Linked DNA regions of Homo sapiens: region 2 is linked to region 1. Evidence: promoter capture Hi-C in human tissues and cell types (Jung and others, 2019). All regions are on one chromosome and are shown on one strand. Each heading gives the region's core, a stretch centred on a gene start or on the middle of the fragment in contact. The rest is flanking DNA. Distances are from core to core; before and after follow the strand shown. Region 1 holds the start of ABTB1 (ankyrin repeat and BTB domain containing 1). Region 2 overlaps RAB7A (RAB7A, member RAS oncogene family).

Region 1 (4,757 bases), core at 569-3,068:
TTTAAAGTAGCAATAATAGTACTTGCTGATTCGACTGGGTGGTAAGAGAGGAATCGTGGTGCTTTGCAAATGTGTATCAAGGCCTTTGAATGCACGCACGCATGCATGCACCCACACGCACACATGCATGCACCCACGCACACCCGTGAGCCGGGCTCCCTGCTCTCACCATTGGCCAGAAGGTAGAGTACCAGCTCCTCGTGCCCACACAAGCAGGCATAGTACCTGAAGGGAGGAAGGAAGTACAGGAGGCAGTCCTCAGTGCTGAAGGGGTGCACCAACCCCCACCCTCCCCACCCCTCTCTCCAGCACTCACAAGGGGGTGCTGTCCCACTTGTCCCGCACATTCACCTCCACGTCTCGCTGCTCCAGCAGGTACCTGGGCAGGAAGGAGGTCAGAGCCTGGGTCAGGACGGGTTCATGGTCTGAGAAAGAAGGCCCGTGGAAAGGAACGGAGAGAAAACATCCCTTTTGGTATGGGGAAGCCTCCCCCAGGTGAGGGCAGGTGACAGGCAGACCAGAGCAGGAGAGGCACTCAAGGCAAAGTGCAGGCAAGGATGTGGAGGTGGGGTCGAACAGGCAGACACTGTGTGCTATCAGTGCTGGGGGACGATGGGCTACAGGGACAGAAGCCAGAGCCAGTGCCGAGGCTGGACCTTTGGCCTTTCAGCGTTTGGGAGAGGAGGTGATGGAGCCTTCACTCCCACCAGAGCTCTCTACTGCAGGAAGAAGCTGGCCCTGTTAGAAGCAGGGAGCCCGGGAAAAAGCTGCTGCAGGCCTCCTGATGGTGTGGAGGGCACACAATTCTAGGAGGCAGGAGTCGCGGGATACAGCAACTGATGGGATGCGGAAGGTGAGCGAGGGGAGTCGCCAATGCTAATGCAGCCCCACTGAGGCGGGGGCAGCCCAAAGGAGGCCTCCAGGCTGCACCTGGAAGTGCTGTGAACCCACTCAGCGTTGACACTATGCACTAACTCTTGAGTGGCACGGGATGTCAGGGAGCGGCCCAGGGAGGCTACGGGAGTACAGCAGCCCGGCGCCAGCCCAGGGGAGGTGGAAGCAGTCAGTCAGCACCAGGTCAAGGGGGAGGAAGGGCCAAGAAAAAAGGAGGTCAAACGGGATAGTGGAAGCCCAAGGAGGGGAAGGGCCCCAGAACCCAACTGGGCACCCCTTCCCTCCGCGTCCGGCCCATGGAGGGGGCATCTCAGCGCCAGATTCACTTTAGCTGCGTCAGGAGTTTCCGAATCCTCAGGGACCGGAGGCCGATTATGGGCTCTAGGTGTTCCCCGCGCCAGGTCCAGAGAGCACGAGAGAAAGGGGCCACGTCTGGAGTCCCAGGCCTATACCCGCGCCCTGCGCCCGGGGGGTCTGACGTCCGGGCCCTACCAGGGCGAACAGTGGCCCGCCTTCTCTCCGCCCACTTCTGCGCCTTCGGGCCTCCGCTGAGCAGTCCCTTCTTACAGGAAGCCCTCCGGGGGTCAATGGCCATCAGTGTCCCCGCCCCAGCGCGCTTCCGCTGGGGGGCTGCGGCGGGGGTCCGGGTGGTCTGCCCCGCGGGGGCGCTCCGAGGGCTGTGACCCGGCAGAGGCGCCCGCCTCTCCGCGGCCGCCCAGCCGCCCGTCCCAGGGCCCGAGGCGTTCCGAGGGCGGCCACCTCCCGCACCCTCCCCGGGACTGCGAGGTCCTCACCGCACTCGGCCCACATCCCCCTTCCTGCAGCTGGCGAACAGGTCGCTGGTGTCCATGGCGCGGAGGATGGTACCCGAGCCGAACGACCTCGGGCGGCGAAGCCGCGCACCCGGCGGATGTAAACACGCTCAGCCCCGCCCCGCCCCGCTCTGCAGCGGCGTCCGGAGGACCCGCCCGCCCCGGCCTCCCCGCCCCGCGGCCCCGCCCCTGCCCCGGGGTGCCCCGCCCGCCCCGCCCCGCCCCAACCCCGGAAATAAGAATGAGTCAAGAAGGCAGACGCGCTGGGCCCGGCGTGGTCTCCGGGCGGGTTTAATTGAGTCCCGGGGCGCAGGAAGCGCCGCCCGCCGCCCGCGGGGCCGGGGTTCAGGGGCGGGAAAGCGGGGCCAAGGCGGGCTTTGAGGCCTGCCCCTCGGGCGGGAGTGAGGGAGTTGGTCCGAAGCCGCCGTGTGAAGTCGGGGGAAGCGGGAAGGAGCCCGCGCCGAGGGCCAGGCCGCGGGGGCGGCCCGGGTAGGCGCGGGGCTGGTGCGGGCTCCGGGCCGTCCGTTTCGGGGTCCACCTCGCTTGGTCCTGGCGGCCCACTCGGCCTGCGCCTCGGCTGCGCTCACAGGTGCGTGTCCTCCTCGAACACGTCCGAGTCCTCGGGGTCCCGCTTGCCCCCCATGAGCGCCCCCCAGCTCCCCGGGCCGTTGAGGGCCCCGCCGCCGTTCAGGCTGGGGTGCTTCTCCTGCATCTCCGACTGGCTGTCGCTGGCCACGTCCAGCGTGGGGTTGTCGTGGCAGCCGTTCTCCACGAAGCGCAGCTCCTCGCCGTGCGACTGAGGCGGGGTGGGGAGAGGCCATGGGCGAGCGAGCCAGCCCCCGGACAGCGCCAGGCCCGCGGCCGTCTGTGCAACCCCACCCAGGGGGTTCCCGCGGCACCCTCCACAGGTGCCAGATCCTTCTTTTCTGTTGCTGCAGCTCAACTCCTTTCTCAAAATAAACCTACTAGTCGTTGGCACTACAAAGCCCCGTGGCCTCCCTGACGTCATCGATCCCCCAACAGCCCCCTAAGAAGACTCCACTTGCGAGGTGGGCAGGGAGCATCGCTAGGGCTCTGCTCGCTTCCTCCTGGGGAGGCCTCTAGGCTGCTGGAGCCTCTCCTTGATCCTTGGGCACCACCAACGCAGGGCCTGCCTCTGGTGAGGTATTCAGGTGCTCAGGCCCTGCAGTGCCTGCGCCGGAAAGGGGCTGGTGGTGCCAGGGAGGGGCCCCCTGGTGGGGCTAGCAGCCCCCTCACTCCCTGCACCTCTGGCACCTGTCCTGGGGCTGGTGCCCTGCAGAGCAGTCAGCAGTGCTAGGCTGACCAGCTGCTTCACCCACGGGACCCTGTGCGCCCAGGAGAGTCACTGCCTCCCCTTGCAGATGAGGACACCTATCGATGGGCACTCTCCTCTCAACTGGCCCCCAGCCCCACCTGTCCCCACACTCACCACGTGCTTGAGCTTGGGCAGCCGGCGCTGCCAGCAGTTGTAGAGCAGGCCAAGCGCAATGATGATGATGCAGATGGCCCCAATGACCACCAGCACCACGAAGAGCGTGCCGTAGTCGCTGCGCACCTGGCTGGCCCGCGCCTGGCAGCTGCTGGTTGTGGAATAGTTCTGGATGCCAATCTAGGGGTGGGAGGGGCCAGTTTCCTCAGCTGAGGTCCTGGGGTGCCATGGCTCCTCTGGGGTGGTTGCATTGGGCTCGGGTGGGGATGGGGGAGCAGGCTTAGAAGGTGCTGGCACTCCCGGCTCCTGAAGTTCCCTGGCGCCTGGGCTTGCCTCTACCCCATGCCCATCCCGTTTGCCTCAGTACACCTGGAGGCCTCTCCACCCCATGCCCATGTTCCCAGCCTCCTTCACATCCCACCATAGCTTCTGCCCCAGCCGCTGAGTCTGAGCTCACTGTGGCCCTAGGCCTCCAGTGAGAGTGGACCCATGCTGCTGGACACCATCCAACTAGAGAGAGTGCCCACACCTATCCTAACTAGTTAGAGAGACAGGAGATGTGAGCCCCCCACACATCCTCCACCATACAACCGCTTCCACCTCGGTGGGGAGGGGTGGACCAGTCAGCTTCCTGATGCCAGGGCCGGTGCAGGGAGGGATACTGAGGGCATGCAGGCCACATGGGGGGCCACCCCGGCTGCCCAGCTTCCTCCCTTCCCATGGCGTGTTCACTGCTGGCATGTAGCTGCCTGCATCCCTCCACGCTGCAGGTTGTCATGGTCAGTCCTGCCTTCTCTGGCCAAGGAGATCGGCGCCAGGGGCCAGGCAGGTGCTATCTCCACAGATCAGCATCTTAGCAGAGAGAAGCAGGAGGGCGAGCACCACCAGGGGCTCCTCAGGTGAGGGATCAGGGCAGTTCCCAGTGCTGAGGCCTAGGTTGCACCAGGCCCCCTTTCTGAGTTCAGGTTGCAGCTCTTCCCCGGTTTCTGTGAACCACCCGTGTATCTCCAGTACTTTTCTCAATTTTTTGTTATCAAGGGTCAGTTTTTCTTGCTAGATTCACCTGAGTATATTTCCAAAGACCCAGCATGACTTTTGGCCAAGTCAGTGTGAATTAAGTGACCAGTAACGCCAGAATACTCAGGGGCAGCGAAAAGCAGGGGGAGGACTGTATAAAAGGTCAAGGTTAGCCCACACTTCCACCAGCAGCCCCACTGTTCATGGACCCACGATTCCAGAACTGGGAAGGGCCTCAGTGGCCCTCCAGGCAGTAGAGCAGTGTGGTGAAAGGCCCGGGCTCCGGAATCAGGCTTCCTGCAAAGCCTGGCTCTACCGCTTACTGCTGGTGCCATCTCAGACAGGTCACCTAACCTCTCCCGCTTCAGCTCTCATCTTCCATGGGGACACCATTGGTACTCAACAGGTGCCTCACTTAACCCTCACAACCCCATGGGGTGGTGGCGAGGACTGAGGGAGAGAGCCTTGCACAGTGTGGTGCTCAGTGGGCATTCGACATGCTCACCAGAAAAGCACCACCACCAGGGCCTCTGCTCCCCTGGCATGCAAGGATGAAGAGGCGGCCAGCATTATACCACTCATCT
Region 2 (4,757 bases), core at 820-3,319, 1.1 Mb before region 1:
CTATAGTTGCTCTTAAGATTTTGCTTTTCGGTCTTCTACAATTTTAAGTCTTCTTTTAGAAAATTTGCTCAGCTCTTACGGCTTACTGCTTTTTTCAGCTCCATTTAATCTACAGTTTAACTGTTCCTTTAGCTTATTTCAATACTATGTTTTCACTTCTTGAAGTTCTAAGTTTTCCATATCCTCATTTTTTTATAGTATCCCTTTCCATTATGGTTTCTATTTCTTTTTAGAACATCTCTAGTCATTGTGAACATCTCTTGTGGTACATTATTTCCTCATGTGGTTATGAACTCATCTTCTCTCCTGCGGTACTAAATGTCCCTACAGAGTGGTCTTACCCTTGTTTTTGCCAGGAATGACAGGGATTTATGTTAAATCCTTTGAGACAAAGATTTCTGTACATGTGGAGAGTGGGACTGAGAATCTCCAACAACTGCAGACACAAGCTTTGCCAATTTCTTGGGCCAAGGTTTTCCAGTTCTACTCTCAAGCTTGACTTGCTTAAACTGTAGTTACATTTTGAAGATCTCTAGGTGTATGTGTGTAGGTGAGGTGAGGATGAGAGATTCATACCAGCTCTGTCCTAGAAGTGTGAGTCAATTAAGAGTCCTGATCCTCTAGGAGCATGCCATGGCTCGAGGTCAACACGTGCACAAATTTCTACCTTTAACCTACATCATTCACACATTTCAGCAAGCCCCCACTATTTGCCAGGTACTTTCTAGGACTATAATGGGATTAGAATTGTATTTGCCTCTAGAAGCACATAGGAAAGAACAACTGCCATGGAGATAGAAGTTTCCAAAGATCTGAGCTAAAAGTTGGAGACTTCAGGTGGGTATACAGGCCCTGCTGGAAGCAGAGACATATCCACCAACACAAGTCTGTAAGAGCAGCACATGATTCGGAATGACTGGAACGAGACAAAAAAAAAAAAAGTGAGTAACAGCTATTTCCACCATCTTTTCTTGCCTCCGTAATGCATGAACGTCTTGGCTGATGCTCTCAAGGGCAAACACCAGGTTCTTATTAGGCTGTGCTCCCAAGTCATGGTCTGGTTCTAAGTGTGAAGATGAAACATGATCACATTGAAAATTTGAAATCACTGGTCATCACAGAGCTGGGAAAATTACTGTAAACCTCACAGGCAGGTTAAAACTGCCCCTGGAATGATTGGCCCCAGATGTGATGTGCAACTCAAAGATCTAGAAAAATGACAGGATAATCTACTCCTATCCCAATAGTTTGGTTTCAAAGTGAGGTTGTACTGACAACCTCAGCTGGCATCATGGACCATGAAGAAAGAGATGAAAATACAGGAGGGAAAATCCTGGGATTCTTTTTTTTTTTTTTTTTTTTTTTTAAATTTAGAGACAGGGTCTCACTCCATCACCCAGGCTGGAGTATAATGGAGCAGTCACAGCTCACTGCAGGCTCAAACTCCTGGGCTCAAGGTATCCATCCTTCAGGGGTTTCTTTTCTAGGGATGTTAATACATGTATACAAACAAAATGACTCAATGGGGGAAAAAAAGGGAATAATAGTTTATAGCCAGAATGTGAAGGCTTTTCAACAAGTCATATGAAAGAATCTGTATCTTATCCTAACTGTTGAAAGGGAACCCTTGAAAGATTAATAAGCTGATACATAAAAAAAAGATTGGCTCAATAGACACACAACTCTTGAAGTTACGTATGAAATAGGAAGTCAGAAAAATAAAGTTTATGTCTCACTACTGAGGTGAGACAAAGATGTTTACCTAAAGCACTGGGCAAGGATGTCAAGAGAGGCACAAGACAGAGACCTGCAGGTTGCCAAATTTAGCAAACAACAAAACCAAAAACAACAAAAAACAAGAAAGGATAAATCTGAGTTTTTTTTTAAGAAGAATTTTTTAGTGTGTCTTAGCAAGTCGTATCTGAGATACACTAGAAGTATACTAAAAAAGTATTCACTATTGATCTGAAATTCAAATTTAACTGAGTATCAGCCAATTATCTACAAATAAGATAATAAGATTTGAAGAACAGGGAAGGAAAATGTCTATGCATGAGGAAAGATTAAGACTAAATGAACTATCAAGGCCTGGTCAGCACAGCCAAGACATGTGCTTACCTGCATTGTGACTAGCCTGTCATCCACCATCACCTCCTTGGTCAGAAAGTCAGCTCCTATTGTGGCTTTGTACTGATTGCTGAATTTCTTATTCACATACTGGTTCATGAGTGATGTCTTCCCGACTCTGAAATTGGAGAAAAACCATAAGTATAAGTCAAATAGGAGGGTCCTGAAACTGACACGAATTACTTGAAGCATTTAAAAGAATCTGCCTGACCTGAAGGACAAGAAACTGCCCTCACAGCAAAGGGCAATGCCAGTAGCCTTCCGAGCATTACACTTTTGAAGTTTTGTGTTTTCTCTCTGGGTAAAAATATAGGGTACAGATGTGGGGCAGATGTGGAAAAGCTGCTTACATGTTTTGGCACAGCCAGGTCAAATGGTAGAGCCTAGTATTATTTTTTCCATTCTAGAAGGATGCCAGCAAATATACTGCTTTCTAAAAGAAGCTTCACTATTAAGACTGTTCTGCTATTCCAACAGTATCCCTGCTATCTTAGATGTTTCTCCATTTAGTGGCTGCTATTTAGCTTGATGAAGTAACACCAGGAGGAAGACCTTGGCTTTCAGCAGACACACACCACTCAGACAATTTGCTGCTTTAAAGTTTAAAATCTGAAGCAGAAAAAGCACCAATATATCACCAAAACAAATCCACCTCAAAGAATGCTCCTCCAAATATGTTTTCTAGTAAGAAAACTCAGCAAGAGACAATGTGTGATTTTTGTGTGATAAGGTTAAGGTAACCTAAAGCTAATACAAAAACCTTCCCCCCCATAGCCAGTGATATCACCTTTCTTGGCCACAAAGGAACATGTTCATATTTGTGTTAAAGAACCTGGAGGTACCTAGACAGCCGAAGGCAGTGTTTTCCAACCCAGACCATCTAAGCCAGAATCTACAAGGTGAGAGGTGGCAAAACCTGGAATCGAACAAGGGCTTGGTGAGACTTTTTGCACAAGTTTGGGGAAGGCAGGCCTAAAAGCACTATCTTTCCATCCCGACGGGGATGGAGTTGCGGGGTAGGAGAGAGAGCACAAATCTAGGCCCTAGCCCACTGGTCTGGGGCTGGGCAAATGCTAGCGAACAAAAGGTTCTTCAAAGGCTGGGCATGGTGGCTCAAGCCTGTAATCTCAGCACTTTGGGAGGTCGAGACGAGTGGACTGCTTGAGCCCAGGAGTTTGAGACCAGCCTGGGCAACATGGTAGAACCCTGTCTCTATAAAAAATACAAAAATTTAACCAGGAGTGGTAGCACACACTGGTGGTCCCAGCTACTCTGGAGGCTGAGGTGGGAGGATGGCTTAAGACCAGGAGGTTGAGGCTGCAGTGAGCTGTGATTGCACCATTCACTTTAGTCTGGGCAACAGAGCGAGACCCTGTCTCTCACACACATACAAAAAAAGGTTCTGCAGGTGATTCAAATAAGCCAGTCAAGACAGAAAAACCTCTGGCTTTTCAAAGGAAGGGCAGGGGACTTTGGAATAAAGAAGCATACCTGCATTTGCTATTGTTGTTATTTTTAAAAATACATAAGCTTCCAATGAGTCAAAGCTTTCATGGGTCCCTTCAGATGCCAAGTCTGAAAAGCCTACCACAGAATCTTTTTATTTTAAGAGTTGGGGTCTTGCTCTGTCACTCGGGCTGCAGTGCAACGGCATGATCATAGCTTGCTACAGCCTCAAACTCCTGGGCTCAAGCCATCCTCTCGCCTCGGCCTCCCCAGCAGCTGGAACTACAGGTACGGCACCTGGCTAAATTTTTTTTGTAGAGACAGGTCTCCAACTCCTGGGCTCAAGCAATCCTCCCCTCAGCCTCCAAAGCACTGGGATTATGGGCATAAGCCACCTCACCCAACCTACCACAGAATCTTAAGAGCCATTAGAGTTAGCTACATGGTTAGTGGCACATCTAGAATCAGAACCCAGTTCTGCCGTCCCAGGCTCTTTTGCAGATAGATCTGAAGCAGGCACAGCAGCAGGAGGATACTGTATGGTGCACTAAGAACGCACATCTGGGTCGGGCGCGGTGGCTCACGCCTGTAATCCCAGCACTTTGGGAGGCCGAGGCAGGCGGATCACGAGGTCAGGAGATCAAGACCATCCTGGCTAACACGGTGAAACCCCATCTCTACCAAAAATACAAAAAACTAGCCGGGCGTGGTGGCGGGCGCCTGTAGTCCCAGCTCCTCGGGAGGCTGAGGCAGGAGAATGGCGTGAATCCGGGAGGCGGAGCTTGCAGTGAGCCGAGATCGCGCCACTGCACTCCAGCCTGGGCGACAGAGCGAGACTCTGTCTCCAAAAAAAAAAAAAAAAAGCACATCTGCTACGCCAGATGCCAATGGCAATACATCTACGTAAGGAAGACTCCCCAGCCTGGCCAGCTTGGAGAAAAGGGATTCCATGAAAATGCCTATCCTTAGTTGAGTTCAAATAGCCATCCGTTCCCCATAAAAAATCATGCTAAAAACTAGAGAACAAAAGGTTATATAACAAGGGATCATCTAAATTTCTGCCGTGGAGGGAAACATGTAAGGCCCTAAGCCTCACTATGAAAGCAAGAAGTGGCAGCACGGACAGTGTGGGCTCCACAGCAGAGAGGCTTAGCTCTAAGCCAATCTGTTAGCTCAAATTCATG

Evidence for each region. Contacts are between HindIII fragments. The study calls those that stand out against the background at their distance.
Region 2: a fragment that was not itself captured here is called in contact with the fragment with the promoter of ABTB1 in region 1 in 1 of the 25 tissues and cell types used here (spleen).

What each region holds. Positions count from the first base shown.
Region 1 is chr3:127,670,013-127,674,769 of GRCh38, reverse strand. ABTB1 (ankyrin repeat and BTB domain containing 1) reads right to left here and starts at 1,818. Exons shown (of 12, transcript NM_172027.3): 1 at 1,689-1,818; 2 at 317-379; 3 at 170-225. The coding sequence starts at 1,744. It overlaps PODXL2 (podocalyxin like 2), which reads right to left. Exons shown (of 8, transcript NM_015720.4): 7 at 3,157-3,336; 8 at 1,968-2,502. The coding sequence ends at 2,290. RefSeq lists silencers at 1,447-1,706, 1,847-2,446, 2,457-2,536. The HindIII fragment of the contact is 16,115 bases long and covers 1-4,757 here.
Region 2 is chr3:128,795,431-128,800,187 of GRCh38, reverse strand. It overlaps RAB7A (RAB7A, member RAS oncogene family), which reads right to left. Exons shown (of 6, transcript NM_004637.6): 3 at 2,119-2,245. It also overlaps the pseudogene RPS15AP16. Among named protein-coding and RNA genes, the nearest start is that of MIR12124, 49 kb to the left of the region's middle. The HindIII fragment of the contact is 3,194 bases long and covers 473-3,666 here.